Regions from separate parts of the Homo sapiens genome. Here region 1 is linked to region 2. Evidence: promoter capture Hi-C in human tissues and cell types (Jung and others, 2019). All regions are on one chromosome and are shown on one strand. Each heading gives the region's core, a stretch centred on a gene start or on the middle of the fragment in contact. The rest is flanking DNA. Distances are from core to core; before and after follow the strand shown. Region 1 overlaps CDKL3 (cyclin dependent kinase like 3). Region 2 holds the start of CDKL3 (cyclin dependent kinase like 3).

Region 1 (4,353 bases), core at 959-3,458, 44 kb before region 2:
CTGTCTCAAAAAAATTAAAATTTAGCCGGGCGCGGTGGTTCATGCCTGTATTCCCAGCACTTTGCGAGGCCCAGGTGGGTGGATCACGAGGTCAGGAAATCGAGACCATCCTGGCTAACACAGTGAAACCCCGTCTCTGCTAAAAATACAAAAAAAAGCCAGGTGTGGTGGCAGGCACCTGTAGTCCCAGCTACTCGGGAGGCTGAGGCAGGAGAATGGCATGAACCCAGGAGGCAGAGCTTGCAGTGAGCTGAGATCGCGCCCCTGCACTCCAGCCTGGGTGACAGAGCGAGACTCCCTCTCAAAAAAAAAAAAATTAAATTTAAAATTTAAAAAACCCACAAATCTTGAAATAGCACATTCAAGGCTAACCATCATAATGTTTTGGTGGCCAAAGCAGATCATCAAATAATTAAACTCTCATCAAACATATTCTTTTTTTTTTTTTTTTTTTTTGAGACTAAGTCTCATTCTGTTGCCCAGGCTGGAGTGCAGTGGCGTGATCGTGGCTCACTGCAACCTCTGCCTCCTGGGTTCAAGCAGTTCTCATGCCTCAGCCTCCTGAGTAACTGGGATTACAGGCACTCGTCACCATACCTGGCTAATTTTTTTTGTATTTTTAGTAGAGATGGGGTTTCACTATGTTGGTCAGGTTGGTCTCCAACTCCTGATCTCAGGTGCTCCGCCTGCCTTGGCCTCCCAAAGTGCAGGGATTACAGGTGTAAGCCACCATGCCCAGCCTTCATCAAATATGTTCTTGAATAAGTTATTTAGCTATCTGGCTGTCTATTATTGTTTTCTTTAAAAAGAAGGGTGGTTTCTGAGTAAATAATTACTTTTCTATTTCCAAGTGCTTTAAAAAAGCATCTGACTCAACTCTACTATTTAAAGTCCTTATATAAAGGTACAGATATTTGTAGAAGCCTAATTTAAAAACAACTTTTAGACAAATTAAAGTACATTCCTATTGTACTATTTTTCTTAGCATCAACCATCAACATATGGCTTAGCTATTTGCATCCTAGCAAAGAAAATATTATTTGCTAAAGCAGAGAATTTTCTGCCTTCTTTATCAGCCCAAGGAACCCATCTGCTGCCATCTATCAAAACAATATGCTTCCCTGTACTTACACAGAAAAGCTAAATTTGAAAATCAAGCAGAATTGATCTGGCAATATTTATTTTAGACATGTAACTCATGTTATTTCAGTAATACCTACCCACTTTCAAAACAATTTTATGGAGTAAATCCAAATCAGAACTACTAGGAAGATAGGGATTTCCAGTGGCCATCTCAATGATCATACAGCCCAAAGCCCAGATATCCACAGGTCTGAAACAGATCAGGGAAAAAAAAATCACTTTTTCATGTAGAAATTTATAAATATATTCTTAAAAATATGTTTAAAGAAGGCCAAGGCTAAAGAAACAAGTAGTATCATTTTAAGTTTTGTTTTGTTTTTTTTCGAGACCGAGTCTTGCTCTGTCACCCAGGCTGGAGTGCAAGTGCTGCAATCTCAGCTCACTGCAACCTCCGGGTTCAAGCAATTCTCCTGCCTCAGCCTCCCAAGTAGCTGGGATTAGAGGCGTGTGCCACCACATGTGGCTAATTTTTGTATTTTTAGTAGAGATGGGGTTTCACCATGTTGGCCAGGCTGGTCTCAAACTCCTGACCTCGTGATCTGCCCGCCTCAGCCTCCCAAAGTGCTGGGATTACAGGTGTGAGCCACCACGCCTGGCCCATTTGTAAGTTTTTATTGTAGATCATATACCGACTTTATAAGAATTGGTAATTGCTATATTGGTGAGGCTATAGGAAAGGAATAGTCCTAAGTACTGTTCTGGGAGTGTAAACTTATATGACTTCTTTGGAGGAAAAATTGGCAAAAGCCACCAAAATTTAAATTGTATATATTTTTTATTGTACAATTTTATTCCTAGGAATTTATCCTAAGATATACTCACATGTGTGCACAAATATAAATTATATGAGAATTTCACTGCAGCACTGTTCGTAGAAGAAAAAGATTGGAAACAACCTAGACCTCCACCTATAAGGGAATGGCTAAGAAAATTTTTGTACAACCCCACAATAAAATATTATTCATCTGTTAAAAATGATGAGGTCTGGCTGGACACTGTGGCTCATGCCTGTAATCCCAGCACTTTGGGAGGCCAAGGCAGGCAGATCACAAGGTCAGGAGTTCGAGACAAGCCTGACCAACATGGAAAAACCTCGTCTCTACTAAAAATACAAAATTAGCCGGGTGTGGTGGCACATGCCTGTAATCCCAGTTACTCAGGAGGCTGAGGCAGGAAAATCACTTGAACCCGGGAGGTGGAGGTTGTGGTGAGCCGAGATCATGCCATTGCACTCTAGCCTGGGCAACAAGAGCAAAACTCAGTCTCAAAAAAAAAAAAAAATTGATGAGGTAGGTCTATCTATATGTGCTGAAATGGAATGATCTCCAAGATAAACTGTCAAGTGAAAAAAGCAACATTCATGAAAGAAATAAAAGATCTAAATAAATGGAGAGATACTCCATGTTCATCAATAGGAAGACTCAATATTGTCAAGATGTCAGTTCTTCCAAGCTTTATGTAGAGTCAATACAATCCCAGACAAAATCCCAGTAAATTAAAAATTGATAATTATGTGAGGTAACACACATATGTAAATTAGCCAAATTTAGTCATTTCACAACGTATATATATACCTCAAAACATCATGCTGTACACAATAAATACATACAATTTAATCTGTAAATTTTTAAAAATCCTAGGAAATTGTTTTGTAGATATTGACAATTGATTGCAAAGTTTATATGGAGAGGCAATAGACCCAGAATAGCCAACACAATTTGAAAAAGAACAAAGACTGACACTACTTGACTTCAAGATGTTTTATACAACAAGCAAGATAGTATGGTATTGGTGAAAGAATAGATAAATAGATCAAGGGAACAGAATAAAGAACCCAGAAATAGACTTGCACAAATGTGCTCAACTGATTTTTGACAAAGGAACAGAGGCAATTGAATAATAAGATAAAAAAAAGACAGTCTTTTCAACAAATAGTGCTGGAACATACAAAAAACTGAATCTAGACACAGACCTTATCCCTTTCACAAAAATTAACTCAAGATAGATGATAGACCTAAATATAAAATGCAAAACTGTAAAACCTCTAGACAATCACATAGGAAAAAATCTAGATGGCCTTAGGTTTGGTAATGAGTTTTTAGATACAACACCAAAAGTATAATTCACAAAAGAAAAAATTGATAGTTAGAACTTCACTAAAACTAAACTTTTCTGCTCCATGAGAGATACTGTTAAGCAAATAAAAAGACAAGCCACAAACTGCGAGAAAATATTTGCAAAATAATAAAGAACTTGTATCCAAAATACATAAAACTCTTAAAATTCAATAAGAAAATAACCCAATTAAAAAATGGGCAAAATATAAGAATATACATTTCACCAAAGAAAATATACAGATGGCAAATGGGCATATTAACAGATGCCCAGTATCATATGTCATCAGACAATTGCAAATTAAAACAACGAGATACCACTACACACCTATTAGAATGCCTAAAATCCAAAATACTGACAACATCAAATGCAGGTGAGGATGGCAAACAACAGGTACTCTCATTCATTGCTGGTAGAAACACAAAATTACACAGTCACTTTGGAGGACAATTTGACAGCTTCTAACAAAGCTAAACATAGTCTTACCATACAACCCAGCAATTGCTCTCCTTGGGATTTACCCAAGTGAGTAGAACACTTCTGTCCACATAAAAACCTGGACACGAATGCTTATAACAGCTTGCTTCATAATTGCCAACACATGGAAGCAATAAAGATGTCCTTCAATAGGTGAGTGGATAAACAAACTGTGGTACATACATACAATGGAATATTATTTAGCAATAAAAGAGAAGTGAGCTGTCAAGATACCAAAAAAAAAGGAGGAACCTTAAATATATATTGCTAGGTCAAAGAAGCCAGTCTGAAAAAGCTACATACTATGTGATTCCAACTATATGATATTCTGGAAAAGCCTAAAGTATAGTAACAGTAAAAAGACCAATGATTGCCAGCAGTTCTGGGAGAGGGACGGAAGAATAAAAACGAAGCACAGAAGATTTTTAGGACCATAAAATTATTCTGTATGATACTATAATGATGGATACATGACATTATACATTTATCAAAACCCAGGAAATACAACACAGAGTAAACTCTAAACTATGGAATTTAGTTAATAATGTTCAATATTGGTACATCAATTGTAACAAATGTACCACACTAATACAAGATGTTAGTAATAGAGAAATGTGT
Region 2 (4,397 bases), core at 530-3,029:
TTACAAGCGTGAGCCACCGCACCCGGCCTCATGTCTTTTTTTTTTGTTTTTTACAATACAGCATGTTCTAACTTTACTTTTCATTCACATTGCTGCATTTTAGCAAGGGTCCTCAGACATTTTCCAAAATTCCTTAATTGAACTCCTAACAGACCTATTTTTACTCTTAGTCCTCCAATCTATTCTGCACAATAGTGGTAGATTAAAATTTACATTTCTTTACACTGAATTCAAAACCTTCACGACTTTCCACCTCTTACAAAATCAAGTTTTGACTCCTTAGCCTAAAAGACTTTAAAATCTACCTCCAATTTACTGTTCTAATATACCTCTTTCCAATTCTGCTCAGAAAACTCTACAGGCACATGTCTTTGCTCTTTGTCCTTTCCACTTTGCCCTTTATCCTTTGTCCTTCTTTAGTCTCTTTTGAGTTTATGTTGTTCCTCTAACCTAGAACACAACAGTTTCTCCCTCTTATCTAAACCCTCCACATCCTTCAAAGCCAAATTCATGTCCCATTTCCTCAAAAAAACTTTCCCTACCAGGGAAAGGACTTTGTGTTGATTCCTTGGCATTTATTATGAGCCACTTTTTATTCAGTATGATTTTCATATACTCTCCTTTCTGATTAAATTATAGAAGTCTTTAAGGGCAGGAACTATCTTTTACCTCCTTATAGTCTCAGTACCTAGCACCATGCCTTGCACATAGCAGAAATTTTTATTAAGTATTATACTTGAATATTTCTGAATAATTATTAAACAATATTGGTGTAGCTTTTGTTACATACCCCAAAACACATATATCTTGTATCACTATAAAATTACAAAATGTAGATAAGATAGAGTATTACACTTGTTTCTCCATAATATGAATCAGTACGTGTGAACTAAAATATTTTATGCAATTTTTTATTCCATAACAATTTTTTCTTTTGACTTAGATGATTAAGGCAAAAGAAGCAAACCTTTAGAAACTTTATTTCTCTCATCGCAATTTTGTTGACAGATTGTTCTGGTCTCTCATAAAATATCTTAATGGCCACTATCTGCCCAGTATTCTTATGTTTACATTTCATGACTGTTCCGTAACTTCCCTCTCCCACTTTTCCAAGGGTTTCATACATCTCCATTTTCAAGCTGGGCTTTTACTACTTTATAGAAATAAAGAAAGAAAATGGAAAATGTTAAACGTTTATACTTTTATTTATTAAAACTAGATAATGCATATCCACAATAAACCCACAGTCTCAAATATAGAGACATTAAAAAAAAAAAAGGAATCTTTTCCACTGAGCCTTTTTGTCTTTGGGAACTAAAGACAGCTTGAGTAAGGTGTCCTTCTGAGGCTCCACCTCTCACCAGAACTTAGGGGTACTCCTGCTGTCTCGGTCATGCCCATCAACACTGAGACTACCACACTATAAGTCACCATCCATCAAGCATGGGGTCCCTACACTTCCTGTCATGTTCCTGTCAAATAATAGGTTCCCGCACTACTGCAGTCGCCCACTTATCAGGCCCAAGGTCCTAAAAAAAGCCTGGTCTCGCCCGCAACTCAAACCACACGTCTTAGGATGCCGGACCGGCGTCACGCCCCACGTCCCGCTGTTGACTTTATCCAAACAGCCGCCGCCGCCTCAGCCCATTCTGTGGTCCCGCTGGTCTGGCTCTGCGTAGTTCCAGTGGAGCCACCGAACACTGATACTACTTTGTTGCTCAGCCCCGCAAGGAACCGGCCACTTGCCACCATGGAAACGCCGGCGGAGTTGCTGCGTTCTAGACTCGTGCGCAAGACCGGAACATGGGCAGGGTCCCGACCCGGAAGGGGAAGTGGGAAGAAACGGAAACCTACTCTGGGTAGGCGCAAGGTGGAAGAGTGCTGTGCTTGGGAATGGGGGAGGGGAGTACAGATTGCTGTCGCAGCTGAGCCTCCTCACAAGGTTGCTTTTGAATGTGGATAGGAAGGATCTGCATCTTTTTTTTTTTTTTTTTTTTTTTTGAGATAGTCTAGCTCTGTCGCCCAGGCTGGACTGCAGTGTCGCTGATCTTGGCTCACTGCAACCTCCTCCTTCCAGGTTTAAGTGATTTTCCTGCCTCAGCCTCCCGAGTAGCTGGGATTACAGGCGTGTGCCACCACGCCCGGATAATTTTGTATTTTTAGTAGAGACGGGGTTTCTACCATGTTGGCCAGGCTGGTCTCGAACTCCCAACATCAGGTGATCCGCCTGCCTCGGCCTCCCAAAGTGCTGGGATTACAGGCGTAAGCCACCGCCCCCGGTCAAGATGGTTCTTAAATCAAAAACTTTTCTTGAACACTTGCCATATGCCTTTTAATTTTTTCCAACTGCTAGTAATCTTTTTTAAAGAAAAAAAACCTCCCTCACCACATGTCAAACTCTAGGAAAGCAAGTAATTCGAAGAGTTCCACCATATACGAAATGATGTACAAGAGCACGGAAATAAAGAGGCCAGTGTCTAACTGCTTAAGTAGACATAGAGTTCAACTGGAATGACAGTCCCTAATGAATAACCACCATATCACTAGACCAAGTGCCTAGGGAGTGCTTTCTTTATTGAATAGGGCTTTCTTTGCTTTCTTCTATAAAATGAGTTAAATGTAAAAAAGCGAAATCTCGCTATGCTTCCGCTAAATAAGAGGAAAGGCATTATTTAATAAATCTAGTCTGGTGGGTCCCACCCAGCATGCATATTTAAATCACACCTGGAGAGCTTTTAGAAAGCATCCCAACCCCCACCTCCACACCCCTGCCCCAATGCCAGAGCACCTGATTTAATTGGGATAGCGTAAATAAATTAGTATTTTTGAAGCTTCTCAAGTTTTTTCTATGCTGCTAGGGTTTATATTGAGAGAAAGGAGAAGTGGTCATCGTTTTCATTGATCACCTAAAATATTCAGAATTGTCTTTTCTTTGAAGGTTATTCAGACGGGCGCAGTGGCTAACGCCTGTAATCCCAGCACTTTGGGAGGCCCAGGCGGGCGGATCACGAGGTCAGGAGATCGAGACCATCCTGGCTAACACGGTGAAACCCCATTTCTACTAAAAAATAGAAAAAATTAGCTGGGCGTGGTGGCGGGCGCCTGTAGTCCCAGCTACTCGGGAGGCGGAGGCAGGAGAATGGCGTGAATCCGGGAGGCGGAGCTTGCAGTGAGCGGAGATCGCACCACTACATTCCAGCCTGGGTGGCAGAGCGAGACTCCATCTCAAAAAAAAAAAAAAAAAAAAAAAGAAAGTTATTCAACCACAATATAAAATACCTTCTATAAATAAGAATGTCATAGTAAATCTTATAGTGGGCTCAAACTTGGTGTAAGCATATTATTTGTTGTGGGCTAAATATTTGCAAGGAGGCTGCGCACAGTGGCTCACACCTGTAATCCCAGGGAGGCCAAGGTGGGCAGATCACTTGAGCCCAGGAGTTCCAGACCAGCCTGGGCAAGAGGGCAAAACTCCATCTCTACAAAAAATTAGCCGGGCATGGTGGTGCACACCTGTGGTCCCAGCTACTTGGGCGTCTGAAGGAGAATTACTGGAGCCCAGAAGGTCAAGGCTGCAGTGAGCCCTGTTCACACCACTGCACTCCAACCTGGGTGACAGAGCAAAACTCTGTCTCAAAAAATAAAAAAATTTGCCCAGGACAAAGATGAACCAAACTGAGTCCCTGCCCTCAATGAACTCATAATCCAGAGCTACAGAACTGATAACAGCATACAGTTAATAGCTTTAAAATTATTCCTTCTACAAGTAGGTTATGGCAGGCCTGGTTAACAAGGACAGCCAGTGATTCTTGCTAATACACAGCTGTAAGACTTTATGATGCACATTCACTGAATCAGTTAAAAGTGTTATATCATTTTGGAAAATAATAAACTGTTTCCAAAACAATTATAAATCCCTGTAGTCTCTGAATTCCTTACCTCTATTGCCTCCAGTTCCCATCTTCAGGACTTCGTTGGTGGGTCAGGAGGACTCTGAGCACTTTTGTATCCATTCGTCAGCTCAACAGGGAAAGAGGGGGTAGGAGGAGGACCTCAGCATTGCCCTAATCTTGCCCATAGTTCCATGGAACCAGAAAGGGTTAACTTTTCCCACTTTCCTTGTACCTCCCTTTCTTCAAACCCTGAATTCTGTCTCTGCTTTCAGTGACTGCCTTGACTGATAAATTACAAGGGTTTTTTTGGTTGTTGCGGGATTTTTTTGAGGCAGGGTCTCAGTGGCATGATGATGGCTCACTGCAGCTTCAACTTCCTCGTCTCAAGCGATTCTTCTGCCTCAGCCTCCTGAGTTGCTGGGACTATTGGTGTGCGCCACCATGCCTGGCTAATTTTACTTTTTGTAGAGACAGGATCTCCTATGTTGCCCAGGCTGGTCTTCA

The links. The method cuts DNA at HindIII sites, captures the fragments that hold promoters and counts their contacts. A contact is called where the count stands out against the background at its distance.
Region 1: a contact is called between a fragment that was not itself captured here and the fragment with the promoter of CDKL3 in region 2, in 1 of the 25 tissues and cell types used here (pancreas).

What each region holds. Positions count from the first base shown.
Region 1 is chr5:134,320,571-134,324,923 of GRCh38, forward strand. It overlaps CDKL3 (cyclin dependent kinase like 3), which reads right to left. Exons shown (of 13, transcript NM_001113575.2): 5 at 1,221-1,333. Among named protein-coding and RNA genes, the nearest start is that of CDKL3, 44 kb to the right of the region's middle. The HindIII fragment of the contact is 3,004 bases long and covers 707-3,710 here.
Region 2 is chr5:134,365,392-134,369,788 of GRCh38, forward strand. It overlaps CDKL3 (cyclin dependent kinase like 3), which reads right to left and starts at 1,780. Exons shown (of 13, transcript NM_001113575.2): 1 at 1,586-1,780; 2 at 968-1,153. The coding sequence starts at 1,132. The HindIII fragment of the contact is 10,082 bases long and covers 1-4,397 here.